Regions from separate parts of the Homo sapiens genome. Here region 2 is linked to region 1. The links are contacts of gene promoters, found by promoter capture Hi-C in human tissues and cell types (Jung and others, 2019). All regions are on one chromosome and are shown on one strand. The core of a region is centred on a gene start or on the middle of the fragment in contact, and the rest is flanking DNA. Distances in the headings are between cores, read along the strand shown.

Evidence for each region. Contacts are between HindIII fragments. The study calls those that stand out against the background at their distance.
Region 2: a fragment that was not itself captured here is called in contact with the fragment with the promoter of VAT1L in region 1 in 5 of the 25 tissues and cell types used here (liver, mesenchymal stem cells, mesendoderm cells and 2 more).

What each region holds. Positions count from the first base shown.
Region 1 is chr16:77,785,407-77,790,589 of GRCh38, reverse strand. It overlaps VAT1L (vesicle amine transport 1 like), which reads right to left and starts at 2,026. Exons shown (of 9, transcript NM_020927.3): 1 at 1,675-2,026. The coding sequence starts at 1,907. All of the region lies in intron 1 of LOC107984878 (a long non-coding RNA gene), which reads left to right. The HindIII fragment of the contact is 13,812 bases long and covers 1-5,183 here.
Region 2 is chr16:77,850,899-77,856,081 of GRCh38, reverse strand. The region is part of intron 3 of VAT1L (vesicle amine transport 1 like); the gene reads right to left. Among named protein-coding and RNA genes, the nearest start is that of VAT1L, 65 kb to the right of the region's middle. RefSeq lists an enhancer at 3,759-4,260. The HindIII fragment of the contact is 9,020 bases long and covers 1-5,183 here.

The DNA.
Region 1 (5,183 bases), core at 777-3,276:
AGTGGTTAAGGAAGGAGAGTTCTAAATGCATGGTTTTAATTGTACTAAGCAAAAGCTCTTCCACCAGCAAGTAAAGAAAAATAATGACCCAACAATCCTCCTCCGAGCTCTTTCCTCAATCCATTCATTCAGCGATAACTTATTTAGGATGTGCAGTGGGCCAAACAGTGTGGGGTGGGGGAGTGGGCTGGTCTTTGGGGATTTAGCTGCGAAAGGGCAGATATAAGCTCTCCTTCTGGGATCAAACAACTTGGTTCAATAAGAGTTTATTGTACAGGATCCCCCGGTTTGCAAAAGCCTCTTCCCTTACCCGGAATTCCCCACAGAGACTCACGAGTCGTGTTCAGAGTCAAACCTGACCAGCTGCATATATGAGCAGCAAGGCAGGGATCAGCGGCTGCTTCTCCCACTAGCTGCTTTCTAATCTGGCCGATGAAACCTGCGTCTGTTCTCAAGGTGGTGAACGGGAGGGGACCCTCGTTTGTATTTCTCGTGCCTCTAGAGAGGTCCAGATATTGGGTTTCTGATCTAACCTAGAAGCTCGTGAGCTGGCTGCTGCTTTGGAGAGCAGTATGTACTGGGGGGCTCTAGAAAACAGATGGGAAGGAATAGGCTCGTCTCACCGTGATTAATAGCAAGTTCCCCTTACAAGTTTAACATGCAAACCTAGTGTTGGGTCCAGTCCGCCTCTGCTGGGTAAGCTCTTCCCAGAACTTCAGGGAAATTACAGTGCCCGCACACAGAGAGGCTTAAACTCTCCCCGGGAATTTCAGCTGAGCGTGAGGGCCTGGAGAAGTTCCCCCAGGGGGAATGGGGAATAGAGGGCAGCTTAGAGAGCTGAGCTCCTTCTGAGATGGGACCAGGAATTCCGGGGAGACTGATCAGGGTTTTTTCCCCTCTCGGAGAAACAGAGGATGGAGAGGGGCATGGAGGGGGTTGCGCTGCAGCCCTGGTCTCCACCCTCACCAAGCCTGGGTGCAAGGTACCGACCCTCTTCCTTCCTAGTTCCTTTCCCCGTCAGGCTACGGGGAAGGAAGTGGGCAGGAGGCGGGATCCAGCCCTGCACCCTGTCCCAGGCCCTTCAGGACAACAGCATAGAGGTGAAAAAAGATCATGTATCAAATTCCCGGCCAAGCCACTTAGTGGCAGCTGACTGATCTTGGGCAAATCACTCATTCTCGCTGAGCGGCGGCTTTCTTACCTGTAAACGGATCATGATGGCACCTGACTCATTAGGTCCCAGGAAGTATTAAATAAGATCGCACGTGTAAAACTACCAACGGCGGCTGGCACACAGTGGGCTTGCGGTTCTTAATACATATATTTTTAATTCTGTTAAGCATCAACCCTCCCGTGCGAAAGCTGAGTTGTCCTCTCAGACGGAGAACTCCCGTAGCGCAATCTTCCAGACCCGGGGTGCCTGGGCGCCAGCATTCTCCCCGCGCCCAGGAGCTCACATTCTCCTCCCGTCACCCCTAGATCTGGCTTGGGGAGGCCGCCCCTCTGCATCCTCCCCAGCTTTGGCCCGGGGAGGCTCTGAGACCCGGGTGAGGGCGCGGAGGGGGTGCGCGCGGCGGTTCTACCCGGGCAGCATCCCAGCCGCAGCTTTCCCACCCCCTCCCCAGCGCCCAGCGCGCAAAAAGAGAGAAAGCGAGAAAGGCGCGGATACTGGACCAGGCTTTGACGCGGATCTTGAGCTCGCCGTCCTGAGGCTCGGGCATGGCCTTCCTGAAGAGCCGCAGCTTGTTGAGCCCCCCGAAGCCAGCCAGCACCACCGCGCGCATCTCCTGGGCGTCCCCGAGGCGGTGCGAGCCGTCGCCGCCGCCGCCCTCCGCCGGCTCCTTGCCTGCCTCCTTCTCGATCATTTGCTCCGTCTCCTCCGCCTTCTCCACGCCTTCCTTGGCCATGGCGCTCGAGGGCGCGGGGCGCACGGGCTGCGGTGGCTGCGGTGGCTGCGGCGCTGGGGGAGTGGGGCTCCTCTCCCGCGGGTTCCTCCTGTTGAATGTGGGATGCTCGGCTGTGCAATGGCTGCAGCCTCTGCGAGCGCCGCCGCGGTCCACAGCCTCCGCCGTAATCCTCACAAGAGCCGTGCCCTAAGCGCTTCACCCCCGCCCCACCCTTCTTTCCTGTCCCAACGAAGCCTCAACTCCAGTTCCTGAAATAGTCCCAAGTTAGGGTCGGGATCGCGGCCCTAAACCCAAATTTGCCGAAGATCTGTGACTAAAACGAGCCTAGAGAGACCACCCTGTCATCCCCCTTCCTGTGGGCCCAGTACTTGGTTATATACGGCACAGGCTCGGGTGCCTTGAAATGGACCGAGACTAATGTCTGGGCCTGGAGGATGCCTTACCGCGACAAGGTTGCCCTCTCTCCCTCCCATCTTCGAGGCTGGGCGGGATAGTCGGGAAATTGGGTCGTTTCTCAAACAGCCAGTTTTGGGTGGAAGGGCGGAGAGGTTTGGGAAGCAGGGAACTAGAGATCCCGCTCACTGCCCTGAAGAGTCCAGTGCAGGGTCTTTTCACTCCAGACCTGCAGGGTCAGCCGGGATGCTCTTTGCTGGGTATCACCAGGGGCTTCCTTACGACGGCGAATTCTCACCACCCACACCATTTCGGGCTATTAAAGAGGCTTCAGACAAGAATCCTGTACCAGAAAGGATCCTGTTCGTGTTCTGATCCCCGGAAGACCAGTGTGTACCCGCTCCCCAACATGCATGCACATACACAGAGTAGTAACTGGCGTTTTGTTTTGTTATCAGGCTCTTTGAGAAAAACAGCTCATAGAAAAACTTGGAATTTCTGAAATAAAATAATGGGGAAGGACGTGGTTTTCCTAGGGGCAGTTTAAGGAAAGAGATGCAGGTGAGGAAGTAGGTCTATATTCTATTATAGTTGCTATGCCATTGCCAGCCTTGAGATCTTGGGCAACTCATTCAACCTTCCTGAGCCTCAACACACTCATCTATAAATTGGGTACATTGATTTTTTTTTCTATATTGTGTGAAGTGCTGGGGTGGACATGATTTCAGTGAGACATGGTCCTTATATTGGAAAAGGTCAATTTCAGAGCATGAGGCATGAAGGACACAGTCAACAAATGTGGTACAATGAATGATGTAAGTGCTGCCTCTTCTCTCCCCTCATTCTTCCTGTGCCTCACTGCTTTAAATGCCCTTGTCTTCTATTCCTTAAAAAAAAAAAAAAAAAAAAAAAAGACGATTGCCATTTTCCCTCCTTCCACAGGGTTCTGCACCTGCTGTCCCCTTGGCCTGGGGTATGTGTTCCATCTCCTTTATCTGGTGTTAACTCCTACTTCGTTCTCACCTCAAGGGTCCATTCCTGTTGGGAGGCACTCCAACCTCCAGATTGGTGTCCTCCCTGACTATAGACACTTATGTCCCTTTGTAGCCAACTTTTATATGTTTACCTGATAATATCTGTTTCCTTTATCCAACTGTGAACTTCATGTGAGCAGGAGCTATTTCTACTTTTATCCAGCGTGGTTTTCCCAGGGCTTAATACATGATTGGTACATAGTAGAATATGCACAGAGGCAGCCTGTTGAAAAACTGGTCCAGAGAGTTGGAGAAGTTCTCATGGAGGAGGGAACATTTGGGCTAGACCTTGAAGGATAAGGCAGGTTCTTCTGGCAGAAAAGGTCGCAAGCTCATTCAAATAACACAGAAAGGTAACAGGTAAAAGGGCTTTTGAGATTCTGGTTTGTTCTATGTAGGCAGAACATTGGCTGTATTTAGCAATCATTGGAGATGAGGCTGAAAGGTTTATTGGGACCAGCTTTTGAAAGTTCTCACATACCAGGTTATAAAATTTAAGACATAATCACAGAGGCAATTGGTGCCATAAAGGCTTAAAAAACAAAAACATGGGGAGAGCATTACCAGAACTGCATTTTAGGATAATAACTTTGACAGTAAGTGGGTGATGGATTAGATGATAGAGTTACTGGAAGCATCGAGATCAGTTAGAGACTAAGTGCAGGCAAAAAAAAAAAAAAATCCCCAAAAAGAAACAAAATAAATGAGAATGGTCCCAACTGAGGCAATGGCCATGGGATGGAAGGAAGAGGGCTAAAAGAAGCCTGAATAGGGCTTGGTTAGTGAATTGAACATTTTATTGTGAATCCAATTGTCCAAATTGTTTGTCTTGTTTACATTGTGAGATACAGTGTTTAGGCTGGATTCTGTCCTGAAACAAGAATTTGAACACCCGTCGTTTATTTTGGAAGTAATCCCAGGAAGCTCTGGCTGGGAAGTAGGAAAGTGAGACAGAAAATTGATACTACCCAATATGAGATGTATTAATAAGCAGATTACCGCAGTGGACAATTGGAGCTCAAACCCGCAGGGGACATTTGAGAGACAGTGTAGAACAAGTCTCAGAGTTGTCTCACCCAAGGAGTGAGGACATAGGTATTTATTCACTAAAGTCTATGCTTGATTGGTCAAGAACTGTTCCTGGAATTGTTAACTCCTTGACATTTCCATCCTGTCCCATGTACTTGGGCTGAGAGAATCCCCAGGCAGAGAATTGTGGATGCTCTTTGCAGGAAGCTATCATTTTATACATGGAATGATGAATTCCATGGAGACATAGCTTTGGCACCAATAATATCTGCAATATATGTTATTGTTTTGGAGGTGTCTACTGTTCTAGACACTGTAGGTATATTTCTTAATTTGATTCTGAAAATAATCTCATGAGTAAGAATTCCTATTCCCACTTTATGGAAGAGGAAAATGAAAATGAATCTTAACATGATGAATTATTGTGCTCAAAGGAACATGCTAGTTATAATGAGATAGAAGACCAACTCCAAATCTGTGCTCTTAAGATCTCATCATGCATGTTTATACGGACAGGCCAAACCAGTTCTGCCCCTGATTGACAATACTCCATGGCATTTTTTAATGTTCCCTGCTCTTTTTTTTCACCGCCTACTATCTCTGTACCACCAAGGTCCCTTGCCTTGGTTCTGAGTGTTTGTTTTCCTTTGGCATTAGTAAAGTAAACCCACTTTGTAGTCAGCACACAGCATGTTAAAGAGAAAGTGTTTGTCTTACAGTGTGTTAAAGGGAATATAATTACTCCCTCCAAGGGAATCTTCTGGCTGTTTACAAACCCCAGATTATAATTGGTAGGCAGCTGATTATCACAACAACCCAG
Region 2 (5,183 bases), core at 773-3,272, 65 kb before region 1:
TGTTACTTCATTGAGTCATTCATTCTATCACTACAGTGTTTTTTGTTTGTTTGTTTGTTTGTTTGTTTTGACGGAGTCTTCCTCTGTTGCCAGGCTGGAGAGCAGTGGCACAATCAGCTCACTGCAACCTCCACCTCCTGTGTTCAAGCAATTCTTCTGCCTCAGCCTCCCAAGCAGCTGGGACTACAGGTGCCCGCCACCATGCCCGGCTAATTTTTGTATTTTTAGTAGAGATGGGGTTTCACCATGTTGGCCAGGATGGTCTCAATTTCTTGACCTCGTGATCCGCCCGCCTTGGCTTCCCAAAGTGCTGGGATTACAGGAGTGACTACAGTGCTATATAATGAGCATCTCTACTGGATCAAACATTATCAGAGGTGCCAGAAATATAAACGAGTTATTTATGTATATGGTCCCTGTCTTGGAACTTGCATTGTAATGAAGATGACAGACATTAATAAAATAAATAAACCATTAAAGTACAATTATATTCCTAAACCATGAGAATGAGAGCACCAATTCCACTGAACCACTAGCAAAAGACTGCATTGGTGCACTATGTTTTTGGACATATGCAGACAATGAAGGGCATGCATTAAAGTGGAGTGTGTGGGCATGTCGGGGGAGATAGATAAGGAGAAGGAAAGGACTCACCTGTGGTCAAGTTTCTCAAATGGGTTGTGTGACTAGGGGTAAGCTCATGTCTCTGTGCCTTGATTTCACTTTTTTTTTTTTTTTTTCTGAGATGGAGTCTCGCTTTGTTGCCCAGGCTGGAGTGCAGTGGCACGATCTCGGCTCACCGTAACCTCTGCTTCCCGGGTTCGAGCGATTCTCCTGCCTCAGCCTCCTGAGTAGCTGGGACTGCAGGCACGTGGCACCATGCCCAGCTAATTTTTGTATTTTTAGTAGAGACGGAGTTTCACCATATTGGCCAGGCTGATCTCAAACTCCTGACCTCGTGATCTGCCTGCTTCAGCCTCCCAAAGTGCTGGGATTACAGGCGTGAAACAGCACGCCCAGCGGTTTCACATTTTTAAAATGGGAACTTGGACTTAATGATCTCTGTGGTCTCTTCAGTTCTAAGATTTCTTGATCACATTGACTAGTTATTTAGCTGGGCCAAAAACAGTGTATTTGGAGAAATCTCCCAAAAAGTATGAAGGTTGAGTCCCTGTACCAAGTTTGATGAAAATGGAACTTTCTGTTACTAACTTGACCATTTTCAAGATCATCTTACAAAAAGAATTTTGTATATCTCTTCTAAAAGTTGTTTTCACTGTTAAACAGCTCATGAAAACCACAGATCATTAATGTAGTCAAAGAATGGAAATGAATTAGCAGAATGAGCTTGTGAATGTTCGGAGAAGAGACTTGGAGGAGATGGTGAGGTAAGATTTTCTTCTTCCAAAGATTGTCAGTTTATTTTTTCATCTTCATCGACGCATAGAGGTACTTAGATGAGCAAAAATAACTGAAAATTATCACAAAATCAAGTACATTGGATGCATGAGCCATACTTACGTTTTTCTTACAACAATACAAGCTCCCACATTGAGGTTTAGACACAGAGTCAGAAACATTTTTTTCAGATCACGCTGTCATTTGTCTGCTCAACAATTCAGTGACTCAATTGTTGTAAGAAGAGGAAATTCAAACTCCACTGTGTGGGCTGATCCATGTGACCTGCCACCAAAGGCAGCAAAGACTATTCTGTGTTCTCACCTACAATGCTTCAAGCATCAGTCAGTTTTTCTTTTTCTTTGTTTGTCACTGCAAAGCTGTTGACCTACACGTGATATGCGCTGTGACACACAGGTGCCGAGAATTTCAATGGCAGGAGGTTACAGGGGTGCATGGCTGAGATAGGAGAGAGGGAAGAAAAATGGAAAAGAGTGGGACAGGCATTTTTCAATTGCTCAAAATATAAGTATGGGCAATTTTTTTTTTTTCGTTTGAGACAGAGTCTCACTCTGTTGCCCAGGCTGGAGTGCAGTGGTGCGATCTTGGCTCACTGCAACCTCCACCTCCCGGGTTCAAGAGCTTTTCTTGCCTCAGCTGCTCAAGTAGCTGGGACTACAGGCACGTGCCACCATGCCTGGCTAATTTTTGTATTTTTAGTAAAGGTGGGGTTTCACCATGCTGGCCAGGCTGGTCTCGAAATCCTGAACTCTCCTTGGCCTCCCAAAGTGCTAGGATTACAGGTATGAGTCACGGCGCCCGGCCTCATTTTTTTTTAATCCCCAAAAGAAGTAGGCATATTCTTTGAGAAGACTTGGTGGACAGTGTCTTATTTTTTTCTCTTTTATTCATTGTATGGATCCGTGCTTCTCAGTGTGTGGTGCCAGAGCCAGCAGCCTCAACATCACCTGGGGACTTGCTGTAATGCAGATTCCCAGGCTCCAACCCAGACTTATGGAATCAGAAACTTCCAGGATGGGGCCCTGCAGCCTGAGTTTGAACAGGCCCTCTAGGGGATTCTGATGCAGCTCAAGCTGAGAATCACTGACATAAATCATCATGGTAAATCACTGGCACATTCCCTGTGATTTAGAGGAGAAAGGCCCCATGATGCTCACAGTATCTGATAATCAGGTATTTTATTTAAAACCTGGATGTGGCCTGACTATTCGTATATAATTATACATTCCCTGGAGAATTCTAATGTGCTGACGGCGCTGAGATCCACTGCTCTATAAAGGCATCCTTCTAATTTGCTCAATTATGGCATTGTAGCAATCCACTTCCTCTTTTCCTAGTTGAGGCTGACATCAGAGTCCATGGGTTTAGTGTGTGGGATCCTGTAGATCAGGGCATGACCAACACAGTCTTCTGTGATCAGAGAAGTAGGAAGAGAAAATAAGCCCCCATCCCCATTAGCAGGCTCTGAGGCTCTTGATGCTTGGCCACGGTGCACCGGGTTTTCCTAGCCTGTCACAGCTCTGCTCCAGCAAGTGACTGGGAAGATGACAATTTAAACCTTTTCTTCTACTTAGACTGCTCTGAGCTCATTGCAAAGGTCCTGGATTAAGAAGCAAGTGAGGCAAAGTGGTGAAGCATATAGGTTGATTCATTCAACTCCAGCTCCACAGAGTTTACTGTGTACCTGGCAGGGCTCAACATACCCTGTAAATAATAGCTCATTCGATCCTCATCACAACCTTTATGAGGTAGGTACTAGTTCATCCTCATTTCCCAGATGGAAGAACCGAAGCACAGAGAAGTTAGGTAACAGCCTACAGTCACACAGTAATACCAGGGAGAAGATCTGAATCCAAGTAGTATGACTCCAGCTTCCACAATTTAACCACTGCCTTATGCTGTAGGACAGTTGTGGATCTGTAGGCCAAAAGGAGAGAAGGAAGGGGAACCACCTCTTCCTGGTAAGTTACGCTTTGTCAAGCACTATGCTGGGTACTTTACACACATCTCATTCTATCCACCCAACATCATATTGCCATCTGGAAGAAAGGCTCGGAAAGAGCAAGGGAACTTAGAGTAATCTTGCCAGGATCATTGGAAACTGAGGCTCAGAAAGTCTAAGTACTAGCAACTGGAAGTGGTGAGGTTTAAATGCAAGGGGCCTTATTGCTAAGCCTGTGGGGACAGGACATGTTCGTGAAGTGATCTGGCAACAATGACTCCCACTCCCCACATAAACTCAGCTGCCAGCCAGTGCCCGAGACGCCTGATCAGATCCCCCTCAGCTGGGTTTCCTGACACCCCGTCCTCACGGAGCACAGCAGGCAGCTTCAGGATCAAGGGTGGGAGGGAGGTGACTTTTGCTTTCCCAAAGCTTCTCCTAGGAGGTGGCTCCATGAGCCCGGGCCTACGGGATGACACACCAGTGACAGCCCCTCCTCTGCTCTAGCTGAGAGAGAGAGGTCAGTCCACTTTCACCTCATGGTATGTTTGAGGGTCAAGCCAGCACAGTTTTGTTGTTTGAGCAATAAGGACGGGCAGCCCCGAGATTGGGAGGGGGAGAGGAGCACTAGTATGGCCCTGGAGGAAGAGACTGTGGGAGATCCCCGCTTTCAGAACAAGACCCAAAGCAAGCTAGCTCTGAAGGGAGCCTTGAACACGCAGGAACAGAAAACCTGAGTTCTGATCCTGCTCTTGCCATTTCAGGGCTCTGTAGCTTACGCCCCTCAAATGTACAAGAAGGACAGGAGCAGAATCTCCGAGGGTCCTGTGTGATGGCGCTCAGCACTGGGGAAACACGACAATATGGACTTTGGAGTCAGGCAAACCGGAGTTTGCAGCCTAGCTATGGCACTGACAGGCTGTGTGACTCTGGAAAGCTACTTCATCTCTCTGAGCCTCAGCGAACTCACATGCAAACAGGTTAGCATACTTAGTACAGTGCCAAGCATAGTGGATGCTCGGTAGATTATAGGGCCCTGCTCTCTCTCTCTCTTATTATTATTTTTTTAATACAGGTTTTCAATCTGTTGCCCAGGCTGAGGTACAGTGGCATGATCATAGCTTGCAGTAAACTCAAACTCTTGGTCTCAAGCGATCCTCCCACCTCAGCCTCTCATATAGCTGGAACTACAGGCACTTGCCACCATGTCTGGGTAATTTAAAACAATTTTTTTTGTAGAGACAGGGTCTCACTATGTTGCCCAGGCTGGTCTCGAGCTCCTGGCCTCAAGCAATCCTTTCACCTCGGCTTTCCAAAGCACTGGGATTACAGGCATAAGCCACCGTGCCTGGCCAGCTCTGCTCTTCTTACTCTAAAGACTGTATCATTCCATGTTATGGTCTTCGGTTTACTAATTCCAGGTTAAATAGCTTTTTTCACACCCTCTGGGATTTCTGATTGTCAGTGGCAGGGCAGGGTTGGAAAGGTTCAATCTGTAACCATAGCTGCCCCTGCTCTACCCTACCACAGTTTTGTGTGAATTAGAAAGACGGGCTAGTATCTGTTGCCGGGCAGAGCTGTGAGCCCTAGCAACTAGAGTGTGGCCATCTCTTGCTTGCCCCACAGTTTGGTGTTTCTGTGCAGTGTGCAGCCTGTCCAACCGCACATGGCAACTCTGCTAATCAACCCTTGTAGAGACCATAGCAAGGCTTGTGTCTGTCATCAGCAATACTCTCCAAATGAGGGGCACCATGCATGGCCACAGGACAACCCATAGCCCACAGACTGACACACTGTTTGAGAGTTGGACTCCAGCAACCGT